3 separate regions of the Homo sapiens genome follow, and all the other regions are linked to region 3. The links are contacts of gene promoters, found by promoter capture Hi-C in blood cells and fetal thymus (Javierre and others, 2016). All regions are on one chromosome and are shown on one strand. Each heading gives the region's core, a stretch centred on a gene start or on the middle of the fragment in contact. The rest is flanking DNA. Distances are from core to core; before and after follow the strand shown.

Evidence for each region. Contacts are between HindIII fragments. The CHiCAGO score rates a contact against its expected background, and 5 or more counts as called.
Region 1: a fragment that was not itself captured here is called in contact with the fragment with the promoter of STIM1 in region 3 in 4 of 17 cell types (naive CD8 T cells, total CD4 T cells, naive B cells and 1 more); the score reaches 8.9 in naive CD8 T cells.
Region 2: a contact is called between a fragment that was not itself captured here and the fragment with the promoter of STIM1 in region 3, in 1 of 17 cell types (activated CD4 T cells). The highest score is 5.2, in activated CD4 T cells.

Annotation. Positions count from the first base shown.
Region 1 is chr11:3,760,088-3,763,861 of GRCh38, forward strand. NUP98 (nucleoporin 98 and 96 precursor) reads right to left here. Exons shown (of 33, transcript NM_016320.5): 9 at 2,815-2,952; 10 at 452-539. Among named protein-coding and RNA genes, the nearest start is that of NUP98, 36 kb to the right of the region's middle. The HindIII fragment of the contact is 2,527 bases long and covers 517-3,043 here.
Region 2 is chr11:3,736,260-3,739,985 of GRCh38, forward strand. All of the region lies in intron 12 of NUP98 (nucleoporin 98 and 96 precursor), which reads right to left. Among named protein-coding and RNA genes, the nearest start is that of NUP98, 59 kb to the right of the region's middle. The HindIII fragment of the contact is 4,702 bases long and covers 1-3,726 here.
Region 3 is chr11:3,854,107-3,857,676 of GRCh38, forward strand. STIM1 (stromal interaction molecule 1) reads left to right here and starts at 1,558. Exons shown (of 13, transcript NM_001382567.1): 1 at 1,558-2,303. The coding sequence starts at 2,165. It overlaps STIM1-AS1 (STIM1 antisense RNA 1), which reads right to left and starts at 1,472. Exons shown (of 2, transcript NR_183662.1): 1 at 1,251-1,472; 2 at 217-552. It overlaps MIR4687 (microRNA 4687), which reads left to right and starts at 1,956; the gene lies at 1,956-2,035. RefSeq lists enhancers at 534-603, 813-1,758, 1,974-2,183, 2,334-2,413, 2,424-2,473 and silencers at 944-993, 1,474-1,533, 1,594-1,753. The HindIII fragment of the contact is 6,805 bases long and covers 1-3,570 here.

The DNA.
Region 1 (3,774 bases), core at 530-3,029, 94 kb before region 3:
CGATATAAAGACCCTGTTCTCCACCAAAAAAAAAAAAAAAAACAAAAACAAAACAACACAACAAACCAACAACGACAAAAATAAGAATAACCAATTATCTTCTGTATGCTACCACAGGTTTGAAACCTGGCCTCATACAATGTGTTACTTAACCAAATGTGTTTCCTTTATGGTTTCTCAGCTATTGCTGAAGTAATCCAAAGTAAATGAAAGGCAATTTACATGCCTACTAATTATCTCAAGCCATATCCAGGACTTTAAACCTTTCCCTCTGGTACTTCACATCAAGCTACCGCTTACCTGAGAACTTTTAAATATTTCCAATCATACGAATCAGGAGAATAACGTGTGGTATAGTCAGTGTAACTTTAAGAGAGCCAAACCTGCTTTTTATATGTACCAAAATTAGAAGTGTTTGTATTGGTTCCTAAAGTCAGGGTTGGTTTGTTACCAAAGAGCCCGCCACTGGTTGTACCAAATGAAGGTGCACTGGTTGTGCTGCTTCCAAATGTAGTAAGCTTGTTATTGCCAAACAGGGTCTAAAAAGAATAGAATACAGGAAAATTTAAAATAATATTAAGACACACACCAAACTAAATACAGGTTACCTCAGGTATACTGGGTTGGGTATGGGGTGGGAGAAAGATGTCCTAACATTCATAAAAAAGGTAGAAAAAAGATGAATAAAGGCTATCAAAAAATAATCTGGGCAAGATTAACTTTATAAACACGGAATGCTTCTGGCCTGAAAAGTTAATGGTAACCCCTAAGGATTACGACTGAAACACAATGAATCCAATGAAACCAGATTTCAGTGAGGCAAAGAAAAAAATAACAAGGCCATCAAATATCTTTTTACCTGTTAAGAGAAATGTAGCAAATACTTGCTTTGCCAGAAGAAATCACTACAAGAAAAACTTTGAACATGCTACATGGATGTTCCTTGAAAATGCTATGCTAAGTGAAAGACATCAATCACAAAAGACCACATATTATGATTCCATTTACATGAAGTGTTCAAAATGGTCAAATCCATAGAGAGAAAGTAGGCTTAAGATGATTACAGGAAAATCAGGAGTGACTGCCAATGACTATGGCATTTCTTTTTGGCATAATGAGTATGTTCTAAAATTAAATATGGTGATAGTTGCACACTTTGTTGATATACTAAAAATCACCTAGCTATACACTTTAAAGAGACAAATTGTATGGCATGTGGACTATACATCAATAAATCTGTCACTAGAAAGTACTAGAAGCCGGGCACAGTAGCTCACGCCTGTAATCCCAGCATTCTGAAAGGCCAAGGCGGAAGGATCCTTGAGGCCAGGAGTTACCAGCCTAGCCAACGTGGCAAAATCCCACCTCTACTAAAAAATACAAAAATTAAGGCCAGGAGTGGTGGCTCACGTCTGTAATCCCAGCACTTTCGGAGTCCAAGGCAGGTGGATCACGAGGTCAGGAGTTCGAGACCAGCCTGGCCACCATGGTGAAACCCCATTCTCTACTAAAAATACAAAAATCAGCTGGGCGCAGTGGCGGGCGCCTGTAATCCCAGCTACTCGGGAGGCTGAGGCAGAGAACTGCTTGAACCCGGGAGGCAGAGGTTGCAGTGAGCCGAGATCGCACGCCACTGTACTCCAGCCTGGGCAACAGGCGAGACTCCGTCTCAAAAAAACAAAACAAAACAAAACAAAAAACAAAACAAAAGCCTGGCATGGTGTCACACGCCTGTAATCCCAGCTACTTGGGAGGCTGAGGCACGAGAATCGCTTGAGCCTGGGAGGGAGAGGTTGCAGTGAGCCGAGATCATGCCACTGCAGTACAGCCTGGACAACAGAACGAGACTCGGTTTCAAAAACAACAACAACAACAACAACAACAACAGAAGTACTAGAATGTCTTGAAGCATTATATAATTTTCTCAATTTCTTACCTCAATTATCTGTCCAAAGTTTAAAAAAAGAAAAGAGAAATTTCAATCTCCATGAAAACAGGACCATATGTTTTAGGGACTTTGTGTTCCTTTTTTATTTTTTAAGACAGAGTTTTGCTCTTGTTGCCCAGGCTAGAGTGCAATAGCGCGATCTCGGGTCACTGCAACCTCCACTTCCTGGGTTCAAGTGATTCTCTTGCCTCAGCATCTCAAGTAGCTGGTATTACAGGCACCCACCACCACACCCAGCTAGTGGTTTTTTTTTTTTTTGTATTTTTAGGAGAGACGGGGTTTCACCATGTTGGCCAGATTGGTCTCGAATTCCTGACCTCAGGTGATCCACCCACCTCGGCCTCCCAGAGTGCTGGGATTACAGGCGTGAGCCACCGCGCCTGGCTCTTTTTTAATTTTTTTAACCTACTCACAATAGCAAGTTCAAAGTTTCTTCCATGAGTACCTCAACAATTTCAACAATTTGATCAACCCCAAAAACATTTCATTCCCAAACATCATACCAATTTATCACCTACAAAAGAGGGAAGAACTAGGAGTTAAAAATTATCTGATTCAAATAAAGCAAAAGAATTTCAATTTAGACTCAACAATTTAACCAATGCTATCAGAAGTATGATGCACATAAGCACTGAGGCAAAGAAATTTTAAAAGGGAAAGAATTTACTAATTGAAAACAAACCTGAAGTTAACCTGAAATTTCATTTTATATCAAATAATTTTTTGTTCTCAGAATCAAATCATATTAGGCTGGTGCAATAATACACCCAATAAAAATACCTGCAAAACAGTCAAATCCTTAGAAGAAAATTCCTTTTAACAAATTTACACACATCTTCAAATTACAGTCAACTGCAGAAACCTACCGAACCAACAGCACCAAATCCAGTATTGGTCTGCCCAAAGAGACCTGTTCCTGTTCCAAATGCTGTCCCAGTGCTGGTGTTTGTAGCTGTCCCAAAAAGACCTCCAGGCTGTGAGGCTTGGGTTACTCCAAATAATCCCTGCAAAGAAGTTTATATAGATTAAAAGATATCCTGTAATAGTTTCCGTAACGAATCTCAGAGTAATAAAAAAAAAGTTACCATTTTTTCAAGCTTATATGACAGATATTAGGCTAAATAACTTATATAGATTATTTCCTTCAAAACAACCCTGAAAAGCAGGGAGTATATTTTTCAAAAAGCTCAGAGCATTTTAAAACTTGCCCAAGGTGCCACAGCTCCTGAATGGTAGGAACAGAAGTTCAAACCTATATTTAAGCCCCTGTTCTTCCCAGGATGATGAACTCCAAGGTCTTAGGCGTCTATTAAATAATAAGACTTTAACTCTTGTGCTCTAAGAGATGTCAGGGTTGCAACACTGAGAAGCAAAATAGTATGTCTAGGTCCTTCATTTTCAACGATTTAGGTGAAAAGAACTAATCAGTATCAAGCTGGGGAGTGAACTTAGAATCAAGTAACCAAAAATAATCAGCGAAAATAAATCAACACGGACCGAGGTACGAGTGTTATGTTAAAGAGCCTTAATTCCTTTTTTTGATACGGAGTTTCGTTCTGTTGCCCAGGCTGAAGTACAGTGGCACAATCTCGGCTCACTGCAGCCTCTGTTCAAGTGATTCTCTCGCCTCAGCCTCCCAAGTAGCTGGGACTACAAGGGCACGCCACCAGGCCTGGCTAATTTTTGCATTTTTAGTAGAGATGGGGTTTCACAATGTGCCCAGGCTGGTCACGAACTCCTGACCTCAGGGGATCCACCTGCCTCAGCCTCCCAAAATGCTGGCGTGAGCCACTGCACCCAGCCAAAAGCCTTAATTCTAAATGAGA
Region 2 (3,726 bases), core at 165-2,664, 120 kb before region 3:
ATGAAAATTTAACTCGAACTAGAAAGAAAATAAATTCCTAAGCATTCACTGCATAGTATATATACAGTCAAGATATGGAAACAACCTACGTGTCCAATATTAAGTTAATAGTTGTAGGCGGGGTGCAGTGGCTCATGCCTGTAATCCCAGCACTGGGAGGTCGTGGCGAGCAGATCACTTGAGGTGAGGAGTTTGAGACCAACCTGGCCAATACAGTGAAACCCCACCTCTACTAAAAATACAAAAAATTAGCTGGGCGTGGGGGCGCACACCTATAACCCCAGCTGGAACCCAGGAAGTGGAGGTTTCAGTGAGCCGAGATCGCGCCACTGCACTCCAGCCTGGGTGAAAGAGCGAGACTCTGCCTCAAACAAACAAACAAAAAAGTTGTAAACATCATGACACATCAACATAGGTTATGTAGTTATTAAAAATAATAATTTGTTTCATTGTGGAAATATGAAATTATCTTTAAGTAAAATTTCCAGAATAAAAATATTATGTACATTAAGGCTACAGAGGAAGGCAGCATACAAACAAAAATGTGGTTTTTTCTTTTCCCCCAAATCCAGGTGTCTTCCTGAAGAAAATGCTTAGGCTATCCTTATAAGTTTATTATTTACATTTATTTAACATTCACATAATATAAACTGAAAGAAAAAAGAAATCACTAAGCCTAATTTTTTCTCAAAGTGTAAGAACATCTGTTATCAATTGCAGAGAATTTAGGGAACAGACATAAGTAACAATGAAGACTATTCATGATCTACCATTGTACCAAGTAAAACATTAAGAAAAAAGCAAAACCACTACAGTATACCCTGACTGAAGAAGAAACCTCTTTGCAAGATAAAATCTCTTTCCAAAAATACTGATCAAAACCCAAAACATAATAAAGTCATTTTACAGACAAAAATACTACCTTTTTCCCTTATAAACATTTACAAATAAAGTTACTGCCAAAATATAATACAATAATCCACAGTAAAGGAGTGACATAAAACTTTCTGAAAAGTCTCACAATGTTGTGGGGAGTGGGTGGAGAACAAAAGCAGTAATAACAAAAAAAAAAAAAAAAAAAAGAGGCTGGGCGTGGTGGCTCATGCCTGTAATCCCAGCACTTTGGGAGGCCGAGGCAGGCGGATCACAAGGTCAGGAGATCGAGACTATCCTGGCTAACATGGTGAAACCCTGTCTCTACTAACAAAATAGAAAAAATTAGCCAGGCATGGTGGTGGGCACCTGTAGTCCCAGCTACTCCGGAGGCTGAGGCAGGAGAATGGCGTGAACCCAGGATACAGAGCTGGCAGTGAGCCAAGGTCGTGCCACTTCACTCTAGCCTAGGCGACAGAGCGAGATTCCGTCTCAAAAACAAACAAACAAACAAAAACAGAACAGGCTGCTATAGCTAAATTAATGAAAAAGAAGAGTCAAAGGTTTCTTAAAATCGATGTATTCAATAAATACTAAAACACCGTACATTCATGTTGATATTTAACTAGACAGGACAAGTTTGCTCAGGATCTCAAACCAAGAGATGTCAATTTTAAGAGCACAGAGTAAATCATCTGTATTCAGAAAGTTCCTAAATCCAATTTAAGAGCAAAAAATAAAGAAAAGTTTTTTTTTTTTTGGTACACAGTACTACAGATTAACAGCATACTGCTATTTTGGGGACTATGCAAGGAGACTCAAGAAAAACTTTAGAGAACTCCAAACCTCACTGGTCATTTTGTTACTGGACAGGCAATTACTCATTTAGAAAACTGACCTGTCTTAGTTGATCCCATCGTTTAACAAGTACAAATCATTCTACCTGGGCGTTCTCAAAAAAAAAAAAAAAAAAAACCAAAGACTTCCTTTCACAAATCCAAACACAAGAAAGTGCATGAGCATGATTTTATATCTGTATGAATAAATATAAACTTTGTGTTAACTGTAGTATTTAAAGACACAGGTAAGAGAGTATCTTGATAGATTAGCAAAAACAAGAAAACAAACAAGCACTAGTTAAGCAACTACTGGTATTACATTCAATCTTGGTCAAAATAATTTGAAAACTTTCCAAAGAACAAATTCCAAAGAAATTTCAAAATAAAAGATTCCAAAAAACTAAATCATAACCAAATGATTAAAGGGATAGGGAAAAGTACAAAAACCAAGTCTTCTGATGAAACACAAGAATCTGATGATACTTTATCCAGAAGAAAGTCAGTGGGTTACCACAAATATACTACAGCAAGGCATGGTGGCTCATGCCAGTAATCCCAGCACTTTGGGAAGCTGAGCAAGCAGATTACTTCAGGTCAGGACTTCAAGAATAGCCTGGCCAAAATGGTGAACCTCTATCTCTACTAAAAAATACAAGAATTAGCCGGGCATGGTGACACATACCTGTAGTCCCAGCTACGCAGGAGGCTGAGACAGGAGAATTGTCTGAACCCAGAGGCAGAGGCTGCAGTGAGCCAAGATGGTGCCACAGCACTCCAGCCTGGGTGACAGAGTAAGACTCCTCTCAAAAAAAAAAAAAAAAAAAAAAGGAAAGAAAGAAAAGAAACCATACATACTAGACTGGTTTTGCTTAGCTTTAGGAAATAAAAGTAGAACCACTGGGTGGAAACTCTATGGAGGAAGGATTTGGTTTCCACACAACCAGAACAGAAGAACAGACTGTACTGCCTGTAAGGAAGCCACCATACCTGAGGTTTTTTTAAGACAAGGCACACTCACATAGTTCTAAAGTACCTTCAACTAAGATTCCGTGGTATAAAGATGTACATTCTAAAAGTAAATACAATTACCTTTAAATGGGCAGTAATGTTAAGGCACACAAATTTAATATTAACTAAATTCTTGTGTCAGGAACTTTGGAAAAAGAGATGGATTATTAAAAACCAGTCAAAAAGCTATACAAGTAAAAATGGCATATTACAATAATTTATGCTACCACCTTCTACTAAAACCAATAAAAAATGAGAAAAAAATAAAATTAAAACAATTTTTTTTTTGAGACAGAGTCTTGCTGTGTCACTCAGGCTGGAGCGCAGTAGCGCGATCTCGGCTCACTGCAACCTCTGCCTCCCAGACTAGGCAATCCTCCTGCCTCGGCCTTGCGAGTAGGTGGGATTACAGGTGCCTGCCGCCACGCCCGGCTAATTTTTGTATTTTTAGTAGAGACGGGGTTTCACCATGTTGGCCAGGATGGTCGAACTCCTGACCTCAGGTGATCCACCCGCCTCGGCCTCCCAAAGTGCTGAGATTACAGGCGTGAGGCACCGCACCAGGCCTATTTTTAATGATAAAGCTAAGTATAAAATCCGCACAGAGATCAATGAAAACTCGAATTCACCTCCGCTCTCTCCAAGACCTTATTAAATCTTTGGCTAAAAAATATTAACATTTATATATATAAACCCACAATGACAAACAATGGGAAGGTGGCAAATGAACACATGAGAAAATCTAACAAATTTCTAGGGGAAAGATGTGGACAGAGGACTGATCAAGCAGGATACAGAAAACTATAGCTTAGAGTACACTCAAAAGCAGTTACAGCTGACCTTTGAACAACACAAGTTTGAACTGTGTGGATCCACTTATGTGTGGATTTCCTCCTCTGCCACCCCTGAGAGAGCAAGACCAACACCTTCCTCCACCTTATGATTTTCCTAATAATACATTCTTTTCTTTAGCTTACTTTATAGTAAGAATATAGTACGTACTACA
Region 3 (3,570 bases), core at 308-2,807:
TGAAGGGGTGGGCAGAGTAAAAGTTTCTAAGGAGACACATTGAGCTGTATCTGGAAGAGTAAGAGACCAGCTACATGAGGAACTGGGAGCAGGCGAGAGTGTTTCATGCAGAAGCAACAGCAGATACAAAGGCTGTGAGGTGGCTGAGTTTGACGTGGTTAGGAACTTAACGAAGGCTAGTGTGACAGGAGCTTAACAGAGCCGGGAGAGTGGTAGTAGGTTACATTAGCCATGTATTTTTATATCAACGGCCTAACCCTTAAGCCAGGCAGCTGTTGGGCAAATTCGTGTTCCCAGTCTTCAGGGGCCTTGCTCAGAACAGGTAGCTGGTTTAGCACTGTCAGTCAGAGGAGGGACTGGGCCTGATCCTTTCCCCTGCGTCTGGTGCCAAGGACAGGGTAGGGCACAGAGGTTTCAGTCAAGATCTGCTGACAGCACGCTTGAGAAGAGAACAGGAAGTGCAGGCTTTGTTGAAGGAGGCTCAGGCGTGGCTCTGTCTTCTTTGGCGCACTCATTCTCAAGTCGCTGACACCTCCTCCACCAGAGAGGTAGCTGGGAGAATGAGATGCAGGGAGGAAGCATTTACAGGCCCCACCGAAAAACCTTAAAGGGCTGAGAGCTTGAGGGCAGGTAGGAAAAAGGGCTGTGAGAGCTAAGGGAGGGCATCCCACTTAGCTTGGAGGGGAAGGGAGGCGGGGTCGGGAAAGCAGATGGCACCCTTTAGCCCAGACTCAAGGAATGTGTAGGGGAATTTTAGCTAGAGTGGTTTGGACATTTCATTTTGCTTTCTGGCATCATCATTTCCTCAGAAAACACTCGCAGGCCCCAGTGGCCCTCGTGGGCCTCCCCCGGGGCGGGTCTTAGCTTCACTCGGCAACCCTCTGCAAAAGAGCAGGCCCTCCCAGGAGCGCCGAGTCCTGTCTGCAGTTTGCTGATTTTCCCACCAGGGGCCGCTGCGCATGGGCGACGAAGCGCGCGGGTTCCCAAGCCGCAGAGAGGCGGAAGCCGATTGGTTGTCAGGCGAGGCGCGAGGGCGGAGCCTGGGAACTGGCCGGGAGTTGGGGGCTGGGAGCTCGCCCCCGGGCCGAGCCGGGTCAGGCTGTTGTCGCCTCAGGCAGCTCCTGGGAGGCTAACGTCGTGTCCTGGGCCTCTGTTTAGACAGCTCTAGAACTGAGGCGAGTGGAGCAGCACCAAGGCCCGGAGATCGGGGCAGGGCAGCTGCTGTCGCCGCCGCCGCAGGCCTGAGTTACCTGAGTAACTGCGGGTCAGGGACCCGCCCGACGGCCCGCGGTTGGCGCTGGAGACTCTCGGTGGGGAAAGGGAAGCTGGGACTTGATCCTTTGCGCGGGATCCTGGCAAAGACTAGCGCGGGCCGGGGGTCCGGGAGAGCCCGCTAGGGGCGGGGATTCCGGGGAGCCGTCTTCACCGGTTATTCCGGGATCCAGCTGGGCGCTGGGGCTGGCCCGGGCTTCGCTGGGGACCGGGCGGCGCGGGGCGGGCGCGGAGACGCACGCCCCCGCCCGCCCCGGGCCCGCCCCGCGCCGCCCGCCCGCCTGGAAGCCGCTGTCCTGGGCCTGGCCGGTGTGCGTCCGCCTGCTGGACCTGGGCACCGCCAGCCGCCTGGGCACGGGACTGGGCGGGGGCGCTGACCTCGGCCTAGGAGGCCCAGGATCCCGGAGACGCCCGCGCCCTCAGGACCCTGCGGGTCGCACGCCCTCCCCAGCTTCTGCTGCTCGCCGCTCTTCGGCAGGGCGAGGTCAGGTGCCCCCTTCTCGCCTCTCTTCTCTTCTCTTCTCTTCCTCCTCCACTTCTGTGCCCGCGGAGACTCCGGCCGCCCCCTTCCGCAGGGGTGTAGTAATCTGCGGAGCTGACAGCAGCCCCGCAGCCACCCTGCCCGAAGTCTCCGGAAGCGGCACGAGCTCAGGCCGCCGCAGCCCCGGCGGACCCACTGTTGGACCTGAGGAGCCAGCCCTCCTCCCGCACCCAAACTTGGAGCACTTGACCTTTGGCTGTTGGAGGGGGCAGGCTCGCGGGTGGCTGGACAGCTGCGGAGCCGCGAGGGCATCTTGCCTGGAGACCGTCGGCTGCACTCCCGGGCTCCTGGCTTTGCCTCTGGGATCCCGAGGTGTCCACATCAGACGCATGTTGACTGAGACCTAGAGTCATGGATGTATGCGTCCGTCTTGCCCTGTGGCTCCTCTGGGGACTCCTCCTGCACCAGGGCCAGAGCCTCAGCCATAGTCACAGTGAGAAGGCGACAGGAACCAGCTCGGGGGCCAACTCTGAGGAGTCCACTGCAGCAGGTAAGGCCTTGCTGCGGGCTGGACTGGGCTGGAGGCTTTGGCTCAGGACTGAGTGGCCCGAAGTGGGCAAGTTGAAATCTAGGTTTGTACATGTGAGGTTCATGGAGGATTCACACATGGCACTGCCTGTTCCAAGTAGTTCAAGAAGTTCTTTCTGGTCAGTAGTCATGGCAAATGCCTGTATCTTTCCTGAACAACTTTCCTCATCCCCCGCACTCAGGATTTTTTTTGTTGGCAGTAAGAAGAAGCCTTTGGGGCAACTTGACCTTTTAGATCAGCAAGGAAAGACCCCATCTTAGGCCTACTTGTCTGGAAGAATGGCCTGGTGAGATGATAAGTTCATTGCTCCTATTCGGTTTTAGTACTGAGCAGCATGGGGGAGGTTGGGGCCACTTATGTTGGAAAGGGAAAGTTAAGGCTGGGCCACCTCTGTTGCCTGAAAGCCTGGTGTTCAGGTGTGCCTATTCCAACAACCGTGGGAACCCTAGTCCCACCCTTCCCTTAGGTAGTCTTGTCTCTTTGCTGTGCGCATTTGAAATATCCAGGCGGTTTCTTAGATGGAATCCTATTTACAACTAGGGTGTTAAATGGCCTTTTCTTGACATAGACATGATATAATTCCTGGGACCACTTGTTGACTTATTCTGTTTCTTCTGACTGATGAGGGTGGGAATTCCATGCTACAGGTTTTTTTTTTTGTTTTTTTTTTTTTTTCCCTGAGTCTGCTTGCTAGGGAAACCATGCTACTTTTGATCTGTCATGGTTTTTCCTATGCAGTTGTGAAGGCTTATCAGGCAGCAGGAGCCCTGGTATACTTTTGCAGTAGAAAGGAACACTTTTATGTTTTGTTTTGTTTTTTTGAGACAGGGTCTTGATCTGTCGTCCAAGCTGGAATGCAGTAGTGTGATCACAGCTCACTACAGCCTCAAACTCCTGGGTTCAAGTGATCCTCCTGCCTCAGCCTCCCGGTAGCTGGGACTAAACACAAGAGCCACTGGGCCTGGCTAACTTTTTTTTTCTTTCTATTTTTAATTTTTTGAACAGACACTGTCTCTCTGTGTTGTGCAGGGATCCCTCCCAAAGTGCTGGGATTACAGGTGTGAGCCACTGTACCCATCAAGGAACTCTATTAAAATCCAGTCATTTTACATAAGGCTTACGAGATCAGTTCTCTTTTCCCATTTCTCTCACCCTTTGGCTGTGATCTGCCCAAAGCTGTGACCTGCAGTGTGGGGAGAGTTTATAGATGAGTTGTTTCTGAGCATAA